Regions from separate parts of the Homo sapiens genome. Here regions 1 and 2 are each linked to region 3. Evidence: promoter capture Hi-C in human tissues and cell types (Jung and others, 2019). All regions are on one chromosome and are shown on one strand. Each heading gives the region's core, a stretch centred on a gene start or on the middle of the fragment in contact. The rest is flanking DNA. Distances are from core to core; before and after follow the strand shown.

Region 1 (3,532 bases), core at 626-3,125, 79 kb before region 3:
GCTCTCTTTGTAAGGTGAGAGTCATGGCTGGCACCAGAGAAGGAGGCTGGTACGACAGCCGCCTGCTTCCTCCCCTTGGCCAACTGGCTCTGCTCACTCTGTGAAGGGTGAAGGTCAGGAGTTCCAGGGCTTCTCCTCCAGAAGTACTCAGGGGGAGCAGGCCTCTCTACGTTTGGACCTCCAGCTCCACAGAGGTCCCCACACCCTGTTCACCTCTATCCTGGAAACATGGGGGAGCCCAGCCTCAGACTAAAACACAGTTCAGAACTGCTGCCAGAGGACAGTGGTCTTCACATGTGCATACACGACTAAGCACAGATAAGGATGTTATCACATAGGGGACAAACAAAACACTCAGTGAGAAATACATCTGGAAATACAGGATGCTATTCAGACAGCAGGAGGGTGGGGACTGAAGGACTGCCTCTTTGTTCCCATCTCTCTCCCCTCCCACTGGTCATGAACTTAGCAGCAGTGCTGTGAGTGAATGAGGCTACAGCAGCAGCCACTGAGCACTGGCTGGGTGCAGGAAGCGCTCCATATATGGGCACTAACTGCTACTCAGAATCCTGCCCTGTGGCTCCCAGACCTCTCCCAGGTCTCGTGCTGGCAGCATCTGCCAGGGTGGCAGTGTCTGCTTGATGGGGACTCTGGCCAGTATTTAAATGGTACATTATTCTTTAGCCCTATTTTCCTGATGATTAAGCTAACCCATCTGAGGCTCACACACAGTCAACAGTCAATTATTTGCCCTGTGGAAGGCAGTAACTGCAAGTATAATCCAGGAGTGATGAAAAAAATCACTGAAATTATATTGCCACTGAAGCCAACTAAAACCCGTAACTTGCTACTACATTGTTTTCATCAAAGAATTACATTTTAAAAGGCGTACATTGTATCAGTCTTAGGGAAAAAACCATGCAATACACATGATTTACAGTACCTTAGAAATATACAGTATAAAAGACTATTTTACATCTTATAAAACTTTGCCAGTTTGGTATAAATGTGATGGCCAATCTTAATAATATCGATAATTTCAAAGGTATTTTTATTAGTTTCAAAGATAATGCTTATTACAAAATACCAACAGCGAGAACTAACACATAACATGATACTGTTTAGTAACACTCACAATGAACTTACTCACATAGGAATGACCAAGGAACACAAGCCATTTAATATGTGGGCCTCATTGTTACATCTTATAACCCTCTCAATTTCTTATAACCTTGGTCTGAAAATGCAACATATTTGAGAGTGGTTTTCCCACTGCAGAATGAGATTATGGAATGCATGAAAAAGACATTTTAAGCTTGAATCACAGTAAATTCCAAAAGAATGATGACAGAATTATTCTTGTACTTCTCAATATTTTTCCCAACTTAAATAATTAGTGATGAGTGTCCATGGGAAAAGTGGTGGTAATTCTAAATTGAGGGTATTTGGTAAAAATGTCCTTTAGTTTTTGCCTGTGCCTTTGTTTTACTCCCTATTGCCTGTCTTAGTGACATCTCAATTTCCAAAGCTTAACTGAGGAAACAAAAACAGGCCAATGCTGTGACCTCTTGAGGTGAGGGCAGAGGGGGCCGCACAGACTGGCTGTCCTGAGACCGCCCGTCAGTCCAGGAAAGCATCGAGGGTGTGGCATCCCCAGCCCTGGACACAAGCACCTGGCAGCACGGTGCACAGAGGGCCCAGGGTCAGGGGTTCCCCACTCCCAGACACAGACTTCCATTAGGTGCTGTCACCTTTGTTATATTACAAGGTACTATTACAAGATTGCTGACTTTGAGATTCATCTGTTCTTCTTCTTAGGAAGCCACACCAAAAAACCGAGGTTAATTTTACTTCCTGAAGAAACAGCCATCTCCTGCCACAGCATGTCCCAAGGGCCCTGTGGTGGTGAAGCGCTGTACTCCAGTCCTGTCGGGTGGGGGACACTAAGGGGGCGCCCAGAAGACACAGAGGCAGAGGCACTGATCACGCCTGTGTTCAGCTGTTCTCCGGGCTAGACACATCTTTTCACTAAGGCATTTTCTATTAATTATTTCATATTATACAAAGAGAAAAAAAAAACATCAACAGCTTTTAAAGCAGCAATTTAGGTCCAAAAACCAGTAGCTTGTGATGTGTATAGTCATGGACAACTTTTGAATCTGGTTTTGAGAAAAAAAATCTAGATTTTAATGACTTAAAACATTAAGTTGAATTAAAAACTGGTATTAACCTGGAGTGCAGAATGTAAGGAATTTGCTCTCCATTCTTTTAAAGGGGAAATATTTTCACAATGGTTGCTCAGCCTTGCTTTCTGCAGCATGAAGAACAGTTTTAATGTAGAAAAGTCATTAATGAAGAGTGCGGCAAAGGAAATCTCATATAAGCATCTGTCTCTGGGAGAAAAACCTTTTCTGTAGCTCAAAGCTACAAACTTTAAAGTTTTATAAATATCTTTCCAAAGACATACTCCAGACTCTGAAGCTAAATGATTTCTATTCATGTTTACAGACATGTTTTTGAATCTTCCTTTTTAAGTGCCCCTATCTAAAATTCTATAAAATGCCAACAACAAAAAAGGCACTCAAAAAGGGAAAATAGGAAGTAACTGGCATCAGCAAGATTAATTCACAAAGCCGTCTATCCCAGAAAACACTTCTGTATTGCATTAAAGACAAATGCTTCACACTGAAGAATAAAAACTAAATGAATTACCTTTCCTCTCAGAGCGCTTCTTGCGCCTCCTTTTATACCGACGCCCCATGATGCTGAAAAAGGTCCCCATGTGCAAAGGCCCAGTGGTGGACGACGCCATGCAGACACGCCAATGCCAGTCCGGCCGGCCCCAGCCTCATTCTGTCCCTCAGTCACTCGGGGCAGCAGCACACCGACTCACTTCCGTGTGCCGGCAGCTGCGACAACAGCAGCCCCTACCGACGAGGGAGCCTCCTCCTCTGCCTCGGGCCCATTCATCATGCCGCAGTTAGGCAGAACTAGGCTGAAGGGGCCCACACACCACAATGACTTCAGAGCACACCACCCAGAGAATGACATGTGACAGCTAACCGTTCAGCGCAGTCACAGTAAAACACCACGAGCAGAGGGGAGAGAACGACAGCCGTGAATCTTCTAGGGAAACAAATCTCCCACAGCAGACGTACCAAAGTCCTGTTTAAATGGAAATCCTAATACAAAAAATCTATCAATAAAAGAGTACAGTTTAGAAAATAAAACTGCAAAAAGTAACAGGCTACCACACAACACAATGCAGAGGCTCAGCAGACGCCAGCTGATGAAAACAGCTCCATATAAAGTGCAGGTGAGTGGTCAGGATGTCACCAGTGAAATCCCTGGGACAGGAAACTGCAGGCCACTGACAAATGGATCCCCCCGCCCCCAGAGAGTGCTCTTCCTCCTCTCTTAACTCACGTGTCTCGGACCAATGCTGACCTGCCTTGTTCATTACTGCAGAGCAGGGGCACAGCTCATGCCCCAGGTGAATGACACACAGCCAAGGGAGGGGCAAACGCCAACA
Region 2 (3,389 bases), core at 57-2,556, 82 kb after region 3:
CCAGGAGGAAGTCCCAGGGACAGGGGTGAGGAGGCTGGGCCAAGAGCCTGGGTGTGAAGAAGTCACCCTCAGCAGGCTGGGCCCATGGGCCCGGGGGGTGCTCAGGGAGGGTGAAGGGAGATGGGGAGGAGGCTCAGGCCTGCCAGGAGCCGGGTCCTGGTGGGCAGCAGAGGGTACGGTGCCTGGCAGCGCTGAACGGGAGTGGGCGGGAGGACGTGGAGCCAGGCCAGCCTCAGTTCGGGGGTCCTGGGGCCTGTGTCCAGAGGCGAGGCCCACACAGCGGCGGGACTGGTCCTGCAGGCGCGTGGCCACAGTGGGCAGGAGTGGGGGCTTTGGGGCCCTGGCTGCCCAAAGCTTGATGCTAGCCTAGGGCCAACCAGACCCCACATTCAGGGCATACCCCACAGCGTATCAGACATCTATAGCCGTGTAGCAAATACCCCAAAACGTAGCAGCTTAAAAATGCCTCCACGTGTTAGCTCCCCCGTTTCAGGGGCAGCATGGCTGGTGGCTGTGGCTCAGGTGGCAGCCACGGGCAGCCCCTTGTCCAGGACGGGGCTCACGGGGCTGTGGGGAGGCCTCAGCCCCTGACCATGTGGCACCCCCAGGCTGCCAAGTCTCCTCCAGGTGCCAGAAGCCACAGTCTAACCCCCTAGGCCTGGAAGTGGCCTCCCTTGTGCTGTGCCCGCCATGGGCTGTGGTCACATGGGTCACCCTAAGGCCACGCGGGCAGGGCTGCACCAAAAACATCAACACGGGGTCAGGGCGTCCGAGCCACCACAATGCCAGCTCCTGCAGTGCTGGCCACGTGCCTGGCAAGGAACCCTGCACACAGACCCTGCTCTGCCCACCCCCCAGGGGTCACGAGGCACACAGACCCTGCTCTGCCCACCCCCCAGGGGTCACGAGGCACACAGACCCTGCTCTGCTCCCCCCACGGGTCACGAGGCCCTCGTCCTGCTGGGCTAGAGGCGGTGGCCTCTGCCCTCCTCATAGTGGCTACTGGGAGACCATGAGGTGGTGGCAGCAGTTGCCTGTGCGGAGGTGTGCTCAGTGCTCAGGCAGGGAAACGTGCACACACACACTCTCACACACACACACACACTCATGCATACATGAGGAGGGGCTTTTGGGGGAAGAGGAGCCCAGGGAACATGACTCCTGGCACCTTCCATGGCGGGACCAGGGGTCGGGGGTGCAGCAGGAACTCTGGCCTTGAACCCAGTGGCTCCGCCTCATCTAGGGCTGCTCTCACCAGCTGTGCGGCCTGGGTGACTCCATGGCTCTGGGTCATGGGCCGTGCTTGGTGCCTGGGGGGCCCGGCCTTCTGTGCCTCAGTCTCCCCCACCCCCTGCACAGCAGGCTAAGGGCGCCTGATCCGTGGGACTCAGGGAGCTGAGTGGGAAGATTTTTGGAAAGAACTGCCAGGGCCGGCATCAGTGAGGGCACGAGCTTCTGGCCGCCTCTGCCCTTCCCATTCCCAGCTGCCCTGCAGGTGCCCGCTGTGGCCTGGAGACGCGGCTGTGGACGCCATCTGCTTGCGCTCTCTCCCTTTTTTAGCCCGAGGCTGAGCGGTCCCTCCGGACTGGGGTGCGTGGCGCCTGGCTCTTGACTGGCAATGGAGACGCTCCCCAAAGCTCCTGGAATGTTACTGACCGCCGGGCTGGGATGGCGCTCACATTCTTCTAGGTGTGGATAGTGGAAACCAAACCAAAATATTAGCACAAGGCTAAGTTTGTTTTACAGCCTCCTGTAATATATGAGGTGCTTGTTTGGATTTTATCTAAACAACTTTCCCTGCACACCCAGCAGCTGCTGAGTTTTGGCTCCCGGACCCTGGAGCCCCTGCTGCCGAGGCTGGGGATGGCGGCTCCAGAGGTCATTCCTCCCCCGGAAGACACACGCTGGCCTTGGGCCAGGGGACCCTCAGCGACGGGGTCACCCCAATGTTCTGGAGGCTGCGGTTCTGCTTCCTCCTGGGGCTGAGCTGAGCAAGCTCTAGCTCTCGGGCCGAGCGCAAGGAGGGCAGGAGTGATGTCTCCAACTGTGCTGAGGTCTGCCCTGGGTGCAAGGGCCCTGTGTTTTCAGCGCTGCCGTGTGGCCCATGGATGCCCCAGGCCCCTGGACAGTTGATGCCTGGGGTCCACACTCCTGGACAGGGCTCTGGACAGTTGATGCCTGGGGTCCACACTCCTGGACAGGCCCCCGGACAGTTGATTCCTGGGGTCCACACTCCTGGACAGGGCTCTGGTCAGTTGATGCCTGGGGTCCACACTCCTGGACAGGGCTCTGGTCAGTTGATGCCTGGGGTCCACACTCCTGGACAGGCCCCTGGACAGTTGATGCCTGGGGTCCACACTCCTGGACAGGGCTGAGGAGGTGGTGTCCCCAGACTTGCCCCAGCACAGCTGTGGGGGGCACCCGGACACCCGCCCCGGCCTCAGTCTCCCATCCCAGCTGGCCCTGACACGGGTGCATGTGATGCCCTCCTGGTCTTGGCCTCTCAGACCCAGCTCAGCCACGGCCATCCAGACCCTTGGGCTCCGGTGTCTTCCCAAAGCTCTGAGAAGCACCCCCTTGGGGCAGCCAGACCCCTGACCACCCTCCGAACCTCGGCTGGACTCCCTGTGGCCCAGTCCGGAAGGGTTCTCCTCGGAACAGAGGGCAGATGAGGCAAGAGTCGGTCCGAGTTCTGCCCTCTGGCACCGGCAGTGCTGTGGAAGGCCCATGGGGCGGCTCAGTGGTCCCCAGGGACCTCAGCCTTCGGGAAAGTGCAGCAGAGACCTCAAGGCCCCCCACGCTCAGCTAACGTTGCCCTCGCTCATCCAGAGCACAGCCCGAGCTGCAGGAGGGCCAGGAGGGCAGATGCTCCACAGCTCGGACAGCATCCATAAGACCCGCGTGGAGAAAATAGCAAAGGCCAGTGTGGAACGGAGAGGACGTGAACGGCGAGTGCTCGGAGAACAAGCACGCCAGCAGCGAACCCAGGGGGACCAGCCCGACAGCCAGTGCGCTGAGACACCGGCCAACGGCAACGCCCCATCCTCACCGCGAACGCCACTGTGACGCGCTGACAGTGGATGCGAATGCGTGACACAGACAGCGAGTGCCAGTGTGACCGTCACGGCTGATGCTGAGCACTGCACCGACACACCACAGAATCTGCAGGCCCAGGGCTCAGCTCCTGCTTGCGGGGCGCAGGCCGGCCCCACCGTCCGACGTACAGACCAGCATGGGCACCTTAGGCCTCTCCACCCTCCTCTGCCCAGAGCCTGCCACCATCCGTGTTACACAAGAGCCAGGTGCTGCACAGAGAGGCCACGTGCCTTGCCCCAGGCTGCCAGCTCCAGAGAATGGTCCGGGGACGCCATGGTCATCCGGCCCCAGGA
Region 3 (3,508 bases), core at 879-3,378:
ATTCACGAGGAAGTGAAATTAGCCTCTGAGCCAAGATGTTTTTTGTGGATGATGTTATCACTTCATAGCTAATCCTTCCCCCTTGGCCTCCCAGTAACAACTGCATGAGCACGTCACACCAGAGACACATGTGTCATCAATTTCTCAGAGCTGGATCGATTATTTTTAAGCCCCTGTCCCTGCAGGAGGGCCTCCTTTTTTCCTTTCCAACTACAGCTTCAAATGTGATGTAGATGTAGTGGGATATACCCAGTCTTAGGAACCCTCAGACATCTAACAGGGCATCACTCACAGACAATGCATTCCTTTCAGAGTCTGTGTGAGTTCATCCTCTCCACCACAGGCAAGATATAGGCACCCAGCTCAGCCTGTCTCATCAAATACTTACCGAGCCCCCGTTGTGGCTGTCCATGCATACTGGACCCTGTCCTCCGGAGGAACCGCGCAATGAGAGACAGTTAATTCTCTTATCCAAGAAGGAACTGTATCAGCCAAGCTTTTATCCTTTCTTCCTTCTCCCTTTCCCCTCTGGGAAACCCTCAGCAGGCAAAAAGGATACAGCAGTCTCAACCCCAAGGAAAAGATGGTCATCAAAAGACAATTAGCTTTTCTATCTCCTAGAAACAACTGCTCTTAAGACAACCTAGCGTTTTGGAAAATGCAGCTCTGGGTGGCACCTTTCGAAGCAATAAAACATACGGCAAAATTTAAGAGGAAACAAAGAGGATTAAATACATATTTGTATTCTCAATTAAAAAAACTACGGTTCTATCATCTTAATTATGGAGTTAAACGTTAAAGAAACAAGTTTGATATCATGCCACTTTTCGTTATACTTCGAGAACGGAATGCAATAATGGTTAGTAAGAAGGAAGTAAAATGCCTGTATCAGAAGTAACAGCCCAAACCTGCTGACCAAAAATATTAACTGGGAACTAAACACCACGGTGCAGATCTCCGACATAGAAACCTGGACAGGAACACGTTTTAGGTTAGGTTTTCCAGCGTGTAAATCGGGACTCCAACACGTTTCAGCGTCCACAGCCCAATCTGACACCTTCCCTCGCACCCATCCACCACGCAATAATTTTCCTTCTGATGTGAACACGTCAAAAGTCACCTCGGGCCCCCAACTGCCCCAGATTGCTCCCGATCGCTGCAGACGCCCGGCACCCGCAGGAACTTCCCTGGCCCGGGCCGCCCGCGGCGCAGAGCATCCCGCGCGGACACTGCGCCCTCGGAAGGACACGCAGGACCGTCCAGGGCGCAGACTCGTCCCCAACGCAGTCTCCACTCCCGTGGCACAGCGTCCCCTCCCAAGGCAGCCTCCCCTGCCCGGGCCCAGCCTCATCCCGGGCGCAGCCTGCCGTCCCCCGGCGCAGCGTCCCATGCCGGGCGGAGCGTCTCCCCAGGGACATAGCCTACCGTCCCCAGGCGCAGCCTTGTTGCCAACGCAGCCTCCCGTTCCCCGGCGCAACCTTGTACCCGGGGCAGCCTCTGGTCCCCGGGCGCAGCCTCGTCCCCAGCGCAGCCTCCGATCTCCAGGGCACACCGTCCCCTCCCCAAAACGCAGTCTCGGTCCCCAGGGCGCAGCCTCGTCCCGGCGCACCTGCCCTCCCCGCGGCGCAGCGCGGCGCATCCCACGCGGACTCGGCGCCCTCGGGAGGGGACGCGGGGCCGCCCGGGCGCAGCTTCCTCCGGGAGCCGAGCGCCGGAGCAGACGGGCGACCCAGGAGGGTGGGTGCGAGGCGGTGCCGCGGCACCCTCGCTTCTCCGCGGGCGCCCTCCGCTCCCGGGACGGCCCGCAGCTCCGGCCCCACCACCAGTCCCTGCCCGGCGCTTACATAAACGCCGCCACCGCGGGGTCCGGAGCCCGCGCCCGCCCGAGCCGCCGCGGCCCCGCGCCGCCCTCACCTCAGCCGCAGCCGCGCCGCGCCTGGTCCTCCGCACGCGCGCCCCACGCTTCGGCCGCAGTCTCGCGCCGGGCGGCGCTCTGCCTCGTTGGTTGTGCGCAGCGGCGCGGCGTGGCCGTGGCCTCGCGCGGCCCGGAGCCCCGGCCGCCAACCTGGCCGCTTGGCCGCCGCTGCCGCCGCCGCCGCCGCCGCCGCCACGGCCGCCTCAGCGCCTCAGCCCCGCCGCCGGCGGCTCCGCCCCCTCCCCGCCCCCGCCGGCCCGCCGGGCGCGCGCACGCCGAGGGGGCGGGGGCGGCGCAGCGACGCCGGACGTGCGCGCGCTGGGGCGCCCGTGTCTGTCGTGGGCAGCCGGAGCTGTGGCACCTCCCTCACGACCACCTGCGGCGGACGGGCGCGGGGCCGTTGGGGCTGGAGCGCGGCCGGAGCTGAGAGACCGCGGCTGGGCGGCTCCGGAGCGTGGGGCGAGAGCGCGGGACCGGCCTGGCGTCGCGGCGCCGCCCGCCCGAGCGCGGCTGAGGAGACTCTGCCCGCCTTCGTTTTGGGGACGGGGTCTCACTGTCGCCCAGACTGGAGCGCGGTGGACCTCCGAGCTCACGCGATCCTGCCGCCTCAGCCTCCCTGGTAGCTGGGACCGCAGGCGCCCGGCGATTGGCGTTTGCGTTTTGCGGAGGTGGCGTCTCGCGGTGCTGCCCAGGCTCCCGGGCCCCCGCGCTCCTCCCTGCAGCGGGCGCTGCCCCCGCCGAGCCCCCGCCGAGCCCCCGCCGAGCCCCCGCCGAGCCCCCGCCGAGCCCCCGCCGAGCCCCCGCCGAGCCACCCCTGCTTCTCCCTCTCCCGGAGTTGCCTGGGACACGCGGGTCCCGCCGGCCCCCTCTCCCCGCCCGTCATCCTCACTGTAGACTCCGGGAGAACCAGGTCGCGGCCCAGGACCCTGGCTGGACACGGTTCCCGCCGTCTCCTGTTTAGTCCGCACTGACACTAGCAGCTGCTCCAGTTACCAACGTTTAGGTGATGGTGGTTTTGTTTGATTTTTTTTGTTTGTTTGTTTGTTTTAGGTTGATAGTAAAAGCATTTTTTTATAGCATATGCAATAGACCTACTCTTCGATTTATCTATATTTACTGACTGTTCCACAGTTATACCAAGAAATGTTTACACAGATGATGATAAGCATATGTAGAAATGCAACGTTTTCACTGACCGGAATAACCAGCTCCAGGCTGCAGTTCTCTGCACGAAGATAAAGTTTGATAGGCAAACTTGGCAGCTCCTGACCGCGGCGACCTGAGCCCAGAGGAGCAGCCGGGGGCGGTGGGCAGAGCCAGGTGTGGACAAGCGGGTGGGTCCCGCACCTGGGTGGGGGAAGCGGCAGGTTCCAGGGTCAAATTGAGGTTGTACTAGCCCTGGCCTCCAAACCTCAGGCGGCCCACTCTGCCCTCGGCCTCTTTCCTCCCTTGTAAAGTGGGGAGTAAGAGACCATCGCAAGCCAGGGATGGGGTGGCGCACACTGTGATCTCAGCCAGTCTGGAGGCTGGGGCTGGGCGGTGGGGGGGTGCGGGTCGCTTGTGTCTCAGAGCTGGAGCTGTGGTGTGCGAGGC

The links. The method cuts DNA at HindIII sites, captures the fragments that hold promoters and counts their contacts. A contact is called where the count stands out against the background at its distance.
Region 1: a fragment that was not itself captured here is called in contact with the fragment with the promoter of ADARB1 in region 3 in 3 of the 25 tissues and cell types used here (IMR-90 fibroblasts, spleen and thymus).
Region 2: a contact is called between a fragment that was not itself captured here and the fragment with the promoter of ADARB1 in region 3, in 3 of the 25 tissues and cell types used here (H1 embryonic stem cells, IMR-90 fibroblasts and bladder).

What each region holds. Positions count from the first base shown.
Region 1 is chr21:45,151,889-45,155,420 of GRCh38, reverse strand. All of the region lies in intron 2 of ADARB1 (adenosine deaminase RNA specific B1), which reads right to left. Among named protein-coding and RNA genes, the nearest start is that of ADARB1, 79 kb to the right of the region's middle. RefSeq lists an enhancer at 3,212-3,532. The HindIII fragment of the contact is 4,613 bases long and covers 1-3,532 here.
Region 2 is chr21:44,990,256-44,993,644 of GRCh38, reverse strand. LINC00163 (long intergenic non-protein coding RNA 163) reads left to right here. Exons shown (of 2, transcript NR_033840.1): 2 at 1,810-3,389. Among named protein-coding and RNA genes, the nearest start is that of LINC00163, 2.1 kb to the left of the region's middle. The HindIII fragment of the contact is 4,237 bases long and covers 1-3,389 here.
Region 3 is chr21:45,073,200-45,076,707 of GRCh38, reverse strand. ADARB1 (adenosine deaminase RNA specific B1) reads right to left here and starts at 2,128. Exons shown (of 11, transcript NM_001112.4): 1 at 1,915-2,128. LOC105372836 (a long non-coding RNA gene) reads left to right here and starts at 2,967. Exons shown (of 5, transcript XR_937796.3): 1 at 2,967-3,235. It also overlaps the pseudogene SSR4P1. RefSeq lists silencers at 2,175-2,374, 2,395-2,484. The HindIII fragment of the contact is 7,799 bases long and covers 1-3,508 here.